Regions from separate parts of the Homo sapiens genome. Here regions 2 and 3 are each linked to region 1. Evidence: promoter capture Hi-C in 16 types of primary human blood cells and fetal thymus (Javierre and others, 2016). All regions are on one chromosome and are shown on one strand. The core of a region is centred on a gene start or on the middle of the fragment in contact, and the rest is flanking DNA. Distances in the headings are between cores, read along the strand shown. Region 1 holds the start of RAB28 (RAB28, member RAS oncogene family). Region 2 overlaps LOC124900682 (a long non-coding RNA gene). Region 3 overlaps DHX15 (DEAH-box helicase 15).

Region 1 (3,402 bases), core at 261-2,760:
CGGACCATCATCTAATTATGATGATGATGAGGGTGATAGTTACACTGGTTAATATTGAGTGCTTACTACACACCAGGCATTGTGCTATCTACTTTATGCCGATTATTTCATTTAATTTTCAAACCTACACAAAGGCAGTAGTCTGTTCTACAGGTGAACTAACTGAGGCTCGAGGACACATATCTAGTAAACATGAGATTAAACTCCAGTGATGCCTCTAGGTCTGGGCATTTCTTTACACTGTTCTGCTTTCCTGTTCTAATGCCCATATGGTCTCCAAGACTACTGCCTCTGGGCTAAGCATTTTGTTAACTTAAGATACTTCATCTGCAAAATGGGGATAATTATACTTCATAATTCCTAATAGTAGTAAAGGTAACAATAAATTTTAAGTGATTAACAATGAAACAACCATAGCAGGACAGCATTATTATTTTTGAATTTACCTCACTAAATTGTAAATTTCATTTATGCCGTTTACCTAACGCTCCTGGACTGAGATTATCCAGGGCAGCAGTTCTTAAATTTTTTGGACTCAGGGCCTCTCTATAATGTTAAAGAATTACTGTGACCTCCAAAGAGCTTATGTTTATGTGGGTTACACCTATCACTACTGCATTGAAATGAAAACTGAGAAATGTTTAAAAACAACAAACGCAAGCTCCCTTAGCTGCCAGTGATGACGTCGTACACAAAGCGTATCCTCCAGGAAACGGTATACTAGTGAGAGAAGGAACGTGAGAAAGACAGACAAGGTGTCCGTATTATTATGAAAATTGTTCTGAGGTCATCGGGATTTCCAGAGGTCCCTAGACCACACTTTATGAGAACTGCTGCCTTAGGGTAAAGATGGGGTGCCAGGAGGTTGGCGATCAGTAGCGTCTGATGAACGAACCATGGGAGCCTGGGGTTGTTCAGATGAGGAAACCAAGAGTTAGGCCGAAATAAGCAGCGCCGGAGCTCCACTGTATTCACGGCCGCTACTGAGGCTTCCCAGCAGCCTCGGCCCTTAGCAGCTGTCCCCTCATCCGCCCCGAGGTACCCTCTTCCCTGGTCCGGTTTTTCAGGGGCCCTCTCTGGCGCTCTCCGCCAGGCTACGGGCGTCCCGGGTGCCCGGAGACAGGCCCCGCCCCGCCGCCGGTCCTCGAACTCCTGGCTGCCAGGCAACCCTGGCGCGTAGCCCGGGCGTCACTGCTCCACCCCGTCAGGCTGAACCATTCCCTTCAGAGACTTTCTCAAGAGGGAAGGAGAAAAGGGAATTTGATGGAACGCCTGAAAGCTGCTCTGCTCCCGTTTTCTCTCCTTAATTTGAACGAACACTTCTTTTCTTCTTCTAGCCAACTGTCTCCTGAAGGGAAACGCAGCGCCTCGCCTCTCCCGCCGGAATGTCCCCCACACCAGTCCAGGGCCGCGAGTGGTTCGGCTCGTCAGGCGGGGCCGCCGGTCGGCGCGGGTTGGCTCTGAGGCGGGGGCGCGCGCCCGACGTGCGCGTAGGGGGCGGGGCCGCGCGCAGAGGGCGGGGAGGTGGGCAAGATGGCGCTTGCCGAGTGATTCTCCTCGAATACCTCCTGCCGGCGCGGAGACACCGGGGCGGGGGTCCTGCCGCAACTACCTCCCTTCCTCCTCTCCCCCGCCCCCGGAGCCTTCATCCTTCCCTTCCCCCCCCACCTCGAGGGGCGGGCCTGGTTCCCGGGACACCATGTCGGACTCTGAGGAGGAGAGCCAGGACCGGCAACTGAAAATCGTCGTGCTGGGGGACGGCGCCTCCGGGAAGGTCAGTCCTCGAGCAGGCCCGCCGTCCCAGGCCTGCAGGAACCCCGGCGGTCCCCGGCCTCCTCCCCGCCGCCCGGCGTCGCCTCGTTACCCCGAGCCCTCGGGCTTCTAGGCCCGGGCCCTTCTGGTTGTGTGGCCTGAGGCCGGACACGAAGTGGGCGCTTGGTGAAGGCCGACGAGAGCTGTCCAGCTCCCCCTTAAAAAAGAGTCACTTCCTAACTCCCCGCCTGGATTGCGAACTCCTGCAAGACTCGGGCCAGCCTTTCAGCTTCCCGCCTCTCAGGACTGGCAGGGATTTGCCAAGGCATCTTAGCTCCTCTTACTTGTAGTCTGGGTCACACTTACTCCTCCCCTCCCACCCCCTTTACCGTTTCTGATGCTTCTACTGCATCGTGAGCTCCCAGGAGCGTAGCTCTGGAATCAGTATTCCCCGGGTGAGAATTGGGGCTCTGCCACTTAGTCGTCGGGTCATTGGAGGGCAAATTGCTAATCAGTTTAAGCTTCATCTGTAAGATGGGTATTGAAAAGGGCCGCCGCAAAGGGAGAAATGTGAAAATACATATTAAATGTGAAAATACACATAAAACCTTTAGAGCACAGTGTCCACTCAGTACACTCTAGTTGCTATTTTAATATCATACCTGTTCATCACCTCTGTTTCCAGCTCAGCACTCGATACAAGCAGTCAGTCAACAAGTGTTTATGGAGCTCCTGTTACGGGTAGGATGCTGAGGGTAGAGCTGCTTGCGTGACAAAAGGGATCCCCTGTTCGAATGAATGAATGCGGGCGTGAGAATATCAGGCAGCGTCAGTCTTATTATCTCCTAGGCAGGGGCTCCTACCCCAAGGCTGTGGAACTCCTGAAATGGAGTAAATACTGCCCGGTACGTGCTCTGGGGAGAGGGTCCATAAGATCTCAGAGGGGTCTATGATCCCTCCACCAGCAAATAGTGAAGAGCCTCTACCCGGATGCCTTCTTTCCCATGCTTCTGTCAAAGGCGCCAACACTTTCTGGGAATATTGCTAAAGTTTATCACCCCTGTACTCCCCTTCCTTATCCCAACCATAGTCTAAAGAAACCCAGGCTTTTATTTCCTGTTTAAGGCTTCACATTTCCCTGTTGCTGGTTGCATTTCGGACCCTGGTTTCTCTGGTGACGACTTCTCTTTGCATCCTCCCTGACAGTTGGCACTGCCCAGATACCTGCTTCTGCCTTTGGTTCTGACATTTGAGTTTCGAGGTCACCTGGGAAAGATGTAAAATTTTATATGCAAAATTTGAAGTATTTTTTTGTTTCTTTCTTGTCTTCTTGGATCCTTTGTTACAGATTTTTAAAGCTGAGGAAAACAATATGCTCTGATTACCTTTAAACGTTGGGGGAAGAAAGGAACTTGGGGTAACTTTTCTTTATAAAGTATATTAATTTTTGTATACTTAGTAAACTTTTCGAATGAATGAATTGCTATAAATAAATCATTGTTTCTAACACCTTTATTCAATAAAAAGTTTGTTAGATTTTTATAGTTTTCTCATCATTTAGATTTTCTTTTGAAGGCCGTCTAAGGTTTTGGCTCTTAAATTTTACTGTATTCAATTCATAACTGATCTTATTTCCCATTTAAAATGATA
Region 2 (3,402 bases), core at 262-2,761, about 11 Mb before region 1:
AGTTTAATCTTCTTTGGAAGTTTCCACTTAATTTTCTGCTACTATTATGTTTAAGTCCTGGAACTGCCTTTCAGTTTTCTCTGCCTTTCCACTGCAAGAAATGAAAACCTTTTTATATGCTCCCTCATAGGATTTCTGGTTTTCATGCTTAGTTTTGAATTGCAGATAAATAACTTCCAGCCTTTCATTATCTCTCCCCAAAATATTAATTCTACTTAGCAATAGCCATCAAATTCTAGGGAGCTTATAGTTACCAGTTCCCCCATATGTGAGAACTGCATGCCTTTTGCAGTACACCACATGCTTTTTTCCCAGTAAGCTACAGGTGAAAGTTTTAACAATTGCCCTGCTTCCTTGTGTCCTACCTCCACCACAGATTCATTGCCAGCCAGCAATGGGTGACCAACTCCAAAATCCAATCATAATGTCTGCTTTCTTTCTGGCACCACTTCTGGCACCAAATCTTTTAGGTCGGCTTCCATGAAAACTAGACTCTGAGGCAAAGATTAGCATTTAGAATGTTTATTAAGAAGTACATTTAGGATCAATATCAGTGGAAAGAAAAGATAAAAGTAGAATCAGATAAGGAAAAGTTGACTGTGATGCTGTTGCATGACAATGAATTTGACTGGCCTTTATCCCTGGTTCACGGGATTGGTTCATTTTAAATCCTTGGGGTCTCCCAAGTCATAAGAGTATCTTTGTTGCTCTCTTTAGTGAATATGCAGTGACTTCCTGGTTTGTGTATCCTGGTTTATATATTCCCTTTATTCTCTTTATGTATTCCCTTTATTCTCTTTAGGTTTATGTATTCCCTTTATTCCCTAAAGAGTTACTCTCTTTATGTTGGGCCCTTGGACGACATCTGAATTAGTGCTAAGGAGATAACTCAGGATGGGAACTGGTCATCCCAGAAAGACCAACCATGTGATTAAAGGGTTGAAGCTTTGAGCCACATGTTATCAGCCCAATCTCTTGACCTTTAAGCAGGGAAAGGAGGCTGGAAATTGAGTTGAATCATGGAGCCAATGATTCAGTCAATCAATCATGGCTACATAATGAAACCCCAATAAAAACTGCAGACACTGAAGCTCAGTGGAACATCCTAGTTTGTAAGGACATGGATGTGAGGGAGGGTCACATGTTCTAATTCCATGGGGAGAGGACACAGACGCTCTGATTTGTTTCCTTTATAATAAAACAGCAACCATAAGTATAGTGCTTTCCTGAGTTTTATAAGTTATTCTAGTAAATTATCAAATATGATGGAATTGTGAGAAACTCTGAATTTGTAGCCAGTTGGGCCGGAGTGCTGGTGGCCTGCAGACCCCTGAACTTATGGATGGTGTCTGGAGTGGGGACATCTTCAGTCTTGCTTGGGACTGTGGCCTTAACTTGTGGGATTGGAGGTAACTCTGGATTGTTACTGGCCAAATTGCATTGGGGTACATCAGATGCCATTATAACAAAGACTTCAGCTGATCCCACAGAGGGTTCAGATGCTCTGAAGCTCACAGTTGTCCTAAGTTGGTAGACAGGCCAAGCCTTTATACCTGTAGAATGTATTCAGGCTGCCCCTGGGCATGGCAGCTTTCTTTAGCCATGGAAGTTTCTGAAGAGGGCTGACACGAGGATCGTGTGCAGGTGGCAAGCACTCCCAGAGCTGAGGGATGTCTCATTATGAAAGTGAGATTTTGATGGCAAGCCATAGCACCACTATAGTTTGTAACTATTTCTGTCTCTTACTAGAGAGAGGATAAGGTGATTAAAAATAGTACTGAAAATTCTTTCAAATTTGTAAGCATTTTGTTGCTAAAGAGGATTCAAAGAGGGAGACTGGTGGATTGATCCTGGCAAATCCTCATGAGTGATCATGTTGTTTTCCCACTTAAATCTCATTTCTGTTTTCCTCTTGTTTTAGGAAGGATAAAGGCTTACCTCCTCAGCAGGACTCCTCAGATGGGGCATGATATGCCCTGTTCTTGCATCTGCAGGATCACAGATGACAAATTCCTCATCTCAACACATCCATGTTGTTTTCTCTGTCTGTGGGTCGCACCTGACTTTTTAAAGCTTCAGGGCCTTTGCACAGGCTGTTTCCTCTGCTTGGAATGCTTTCTGCCCTCTCTGCCTGGACAATTTGCATTCTTTTTTTTTTTTTTTTTGAGATGGAGTTTTGCTCCTGTTGCCCAGGCTGGAGGGCAATGATGTGACCTTGGCTCACCGCAACCTCCGCCTCCTGGGTTCAAGCAATTCTCCCACCTTAGCCTCCCGAGTAGCTGGGATTACAGGTATGCACCACTATGCCCGGCTAATTTTGTATTTTTAGTAGAGATGGGGTTTCTCCATGTTGGTCAGGCTGGTCTTGAACTCCTGACCTCAGGTGATCTGCCTGCCTTGGCCTCCCAAAGTGCTGGGATTGCATTTATTTTTAAGGTTTTTGTCTAAATGTTTCTTTCTCAGAGAGGCATTCCCTAACCCTCAATGTAGATCAAGGCCACTTGTTATATGCTCTCACAATGCCTGTCGTCTGTAGCTGGCCTTTTCAGCACTTATCATCGTGATAACAACATAGTTATTTATGTGTTTAGCTGTTCAGTGCCTGTCTCTCTCCCTCTGCCACGTTTTATGAAGGCAAGAACTATGGCTATTTTCTTCTTTCCTCTTTCCCCAGCACTTAATGCCTGACATGGGAGCTTAATACATATTTGTTGATTGAATAAATAAATGGTAATAGTGATACTGTACAATGGTCAATAGTGCGGCTCTAGAGTTGGACTGGGTTCAAATAATCCAAATCCCCACTTGTCCACTGAGAGTTCTGTAAACTAGTTCTCTACATGGACAATGCAGAAGTTTTATCAGTTCATGTTCATCTTGTCAGACTGGGAGAACTTATCTTCAGTAACCACACCTTAGACGAATAAAGTGGAACGAGAATATCTATTTATCAGCCGCAGCAGAACATAGCAATTAAGCACACACACTGTCTGGGCTGAATCTCAGAACTGTCATCTTGGCCAAAATACTTGCCTCTTTGAGTAACAGTTTCCTCAGCTGTAAATAAGAGTAATTCATTGGACTAAACTTGAAGTTGCTGTAAGTCTCAAATAGGCTCAAATGTGTAAGGAACAGCATCTGGCTCATAGTGCTTTGTATGTGTTTGCTATTAGCAATTATTTTTTATTAATTTAGGTTGACTTGAGACCCTGCAGCTGGTTAGCTGCATAAGACATTTCCTCCAGGTGAGAAAGTCCATGTCATAGGCCAGAGGGTTGTCTAGTAGAGAAAGAGTAACAGTAAGGGAAAATAGGATATTATCTGGAAATATTTCCAGCCAAGTTTGTGGAGGGCCTGGTGGGTGCCTTTTCTCTACTCCAGGGATAATGATGTCTGAAAATC
Region 3 (3,402 bases), core at 648-3,147, about 11 Mb before region 1:
GTATTGAAGTGAATTACCTGTCTTACCATGCAGAGATTGAACATACCGCATACACAATTTATCTTTTTCTAAAGTTACATGTGCATGGAGACATTTTGAAGGTACTGTAGCAACCAAAATAGGAAGCTTTTATTATAGACTGAGCCTTAGTACCATTCTTCTTTTCTTTTCTTTTTTTTTTTTTTAATTTTTGTGTTGTTGTTGAGACAGTCTTTCACCCATGCTGGAGTGCAGTGGTATGAACACAGCGTCAACCTCCTGAGCTGAAGCGATCCTCCTGCCTCAGCCTCCCAAGTAGCTGGGATCACAGGCATATGCCACCAGTGCCTGGCTAATTTTTAAATAAAATTTTTGTAGAGTTGAGGTTTTGAACTCCTGAGCTAAAGCAATCCTCCTGCCTTAGCCTTGCCAATTTTTCTTTTTTAATGAAGGAAAACTTAGAATTGATGTTAGGGTATTCAAAAATCACCTTACGGAAATTTTAAGAATTTTCAAACTACAAGAAAGACTGTAACTCTGAACTTACTATTTAATTGATATTTGGGTAAAGCCAGACACTGTATACTTTACATGTATTAGCTCATTTACGTTTTTCTATAACCCTGCAGGAAGATATTCATCACCACTTTACAGATGAGCAAAATGAGGTTTAAGTTTATGAGAAACTTAGGTTTAGTGGATTGTCCTGGGTTACATGGATTATGGATTTTGGTGGGCTCAATATTTAAAACTTTGTACCTTTTGTCTTTATATCTAAAGTTTTATATTTCATACTGCTATTCTGTGGTCTGATTATGGGTAGCCTCATTTCAGAGATGAGTTTATTAATGGTTAGTGTAGAAGGAGGTCAGGTCAACTCAAGATGAGGTTTGTGATTATTTGGATTAATATTTAACTTTTAGAGGGGTAATTAAGATACTTGGATACTGAGGATTGCAGCACATCTGGGGGATTTGAAGGGAAACCAAACAGTTTAAAAAGTGAATTTCATTCAAATGTTTCCTAGCATGCTCTTATTAAACTTTGACTCAAACCATTAAAGCCAGTCTTTTTTTGGTGATTTGTTCTTGTCAGAAAAATTCTCTAAACAAAATCTAAAGTAATGACTTTAACTTTTTTTTTTTTTTTTTTTTTTTGAGACAAAGTCTCGCTCTGTCACCCAAGCTGGAGTGCAGTGGTATGATCTTGGCTTTCTGCAACCTCCTCCTCCTGGGTTCAAGTGATTCTCCTGCCTCAGCCTCCTGAGTAGCTGGGACTACAAGCGCGCACCACCATGCCTGGCTATTTTTTTTTTTTTTTTGTATTTTTAATAGAGACAGGGTTTCACCCTGTTGGCCAGGCTGGTCTCTAAATCCTGACCTCAAGTTATTGGCCTGTCTGGGCCTCCCAAAGTGCTGGGATTACAGGCCCAAGCCACTGCACCGGGCCATGACTTTAGCTTTTGACAGACCTACAATAAAGACATTTCACATTGCTGCTTAGTAGACACATAACTGCACATGAGGAAGGAATTGAAGCTAGGTCAACCAAAGGGACAGTGTGAGCAAGGACGCATGTTGAGCTAAGGGAATGCAGGTATGCTCTGGCTAGAATACAGAGGGTTTGGGAAGGTGGAGGTGGGGCAGGTGAGACTGGAACTGTAAGTTGAGCCTTAATATATCTTGTATAGACTGGAAGCCATCAGAGCTCTTGAATTGAAGAGGAATGATGAGGATTTTTTTTTAAAAAAACTCCTGTCTAGTGAACATATTGATGATACACCATGTAAGAGCTCATAACAAAAGTTTCGATTCTGTGAAGGGCCTTGGGAATAGAAAATAAAGAATGGATTGGAGTCAGGATATTAGGAATTACAAGTATTTTGGAGGAAGGTGAGAAATGGCTTTGCTTTTGAATGTGTGAATTTGGGATACCAACTAGGTGGAAATGACCGTTAGCTCTAAGATGAAAGCTGGAGTTAGGATTGGCATTGATGTATTATAGGTAGTATTAGAAGTTAGAACATATAAGACTTCACAGGATATTATGTAAAACAAGAAGACTAGAACACCGAGGATCAGTTTTAAGATGCCCTCAAGTGGAGGAAGCAAAGAGCTGAAAAGGAGGAATGGCTTTAGAATAACTTAGACCTGGCTGGGTACAGTGGCCCATGCCTGTAATCCTGGCACTTTGGGATGCTGAGGCGGGCAGATTACCTGAGGTCAGGGGTTTGAGACCAGCCTGGCCAATATGGTGAAACCCCATCTCTACTAAAAATACAGAAATCAGCTGGGCGTGGTGGCGCACACCTGTAATCCCAGCTACTTGGGAGGCTGAGGCAGGAGAATCACTTGAACCCTGGAGGTGGAGGTTGCAGTAAGCCTAGATTGCGCCCCTGCACTCCAGCCTGGGCAACAGAGTGAAACTCCGTCTTAAAAGAAAAAAACAAAAAAGCCGGATCCCTGGCTTGAATACACCAGTAGCCTACATATTTCAGGACCTCTTTCTTTTCCTAATGCTGTTTTCCTTAGAAATGTGAACAGATGCATTAACTGACTGGTTCTCCAGCTATTGCCTGGGAGTTCTTGAAAGTCCTTGAAACCATTTCAGGGATCCTAGAATTTGTAAAAATACAAGGAAACGCACTCTTCTAGCTAAGTTTTTTTGTTTGAAAAGTAGTCATTTTTATAGAAAGCGTTATTTTGTGTTAAAACAGAATGAGTTTTATTGTTAGGAATTAATATTTTAGCAATTTTTCAGTTTTAATTTCTTAACAGTAAATTTATTAGTAGCTTGGCATCCTCGGTCATTTTCAGAGTGAGTGCACAGGGGTCCTGAGAGCTGCTAATTGACTTGTTGGTCTTGTTTTTAAAGTGGAGGTAAGCTGTTGATTTTAGCGGAGTGAATTAAAAAATCTGAACATTCTTGGCCAGGCATGGTGGCTCACGCCTATAATCCCAGCACTTTGGAAGGCTGAGGCGGGTGCATCACCTGAGGTCAGGAGTTCGACACCAGCTTGCCCAACGTGGTGAAACCCTGTCTCTACTAAAAATACAAAAAATTAGCCAGGCGTGGTGGCACGTGCCTGTAGTCCCAGCTACTTGGGAGGCTGAAGTAGGAGAATCGCTTGAACCTTGGTGGTTACAGTGAGCCAAGATTATGCCACTGCACTCCAGCCTGGTCAACAGAGTGAGATTCCATCTCAAAAAACAAACAAAAAAACAAAAGATCTGAACATTCTTGCCTTGAGAATTTTGAATTAATTTTAAATATCTTTGGTTCACCAGTGAGTGAATTTCACTTTCTAGATCTTTGAAAGTACATTTTGCCTTTGTAAAAGGGTTGCCGAATTGAGGATATATCAGTAAGTAAGGCTTTATAGCCTGACTAGAAAACCACTTAAACCTAGGTCTGTGGATTTAC

The links. The method cuts DNA at HindIII sites, captures the fragments that hold promoters and counts their contacts. A CHiCAGO score of 5 or more calls a contact.
Region 2: a contact is called between a fragment that was not itself captured here and the fragment with the promoter of RAB28 in region 1, in 3 of 17 cell types (non-activated CD4 T cells, total CD4 T cells and activated CD4 T cells). The highest score is 8.3, in non-activated CD4 T cells.
Region 3: a contact is called between a fragment that was not itself captured here and the fragment with the promoter of RAB28 in region 1, in 2 of 17 cell types (total CD4 T cells and non-activated CD4 T cells). The highest score is 7.5, in total CD4 T cells.

The regions. Positions count from the first base shown.
Region 1 is chr4:13,482,448-13,485,849 of GRCh38, reverse strand. RAB28 (RAB28, member RAS oncogene family) reads left to right here and starts at 1,510. Exons shown (of 7, transcript NM_001017979.3): 1 at 1,510-1,774. The coding sequence starts at 1,700. It overlaps LOC105374495 (a long non-coding RNA gene), which reads right to left and starts at 1,401. Exons shown (of 3, transcript XR_925413.1): 1 at 896-1,401. RefSeq lists silencers at 1,049-1,108, 1,071-1,365, 1,359-1,978 and enhancers at 1,249-1,368, 628-1,535, 1,331-1,625. The HindIII fragment of the contact is 2,971 bases long and covers 1-2,275 here.
Region 2 is chr4:24,587,925-24,591,326 of GRCh38, reverse strand. It overlaps LOC124900682 (a long non-coding RNA gene), which reads left to right. Exons shown (of 2, transcript XR_007058078.1): 2 at 1,922-2,740. Among named protein-coding and RNA genes, the nearest start is that of DHX15, 5.1 kb to the right of the region's middle. The HindIII fragment of the contact is 1,128 bases long and covers 948-2,075 here.
Region 3 is chr4:24,571,940-24,575,341 of GRCh38, reverse strand. The region is part of intron 2 of DHX15 (DEAH-box helicase 15); the gene reads left to right. Among named protein-coding and RNA genes, the nearest start is that of DHX15, 11 kb to the left of the region's middle. The HindIII fragment of the contact is 3,537 bases long and covers 129-3,402 here.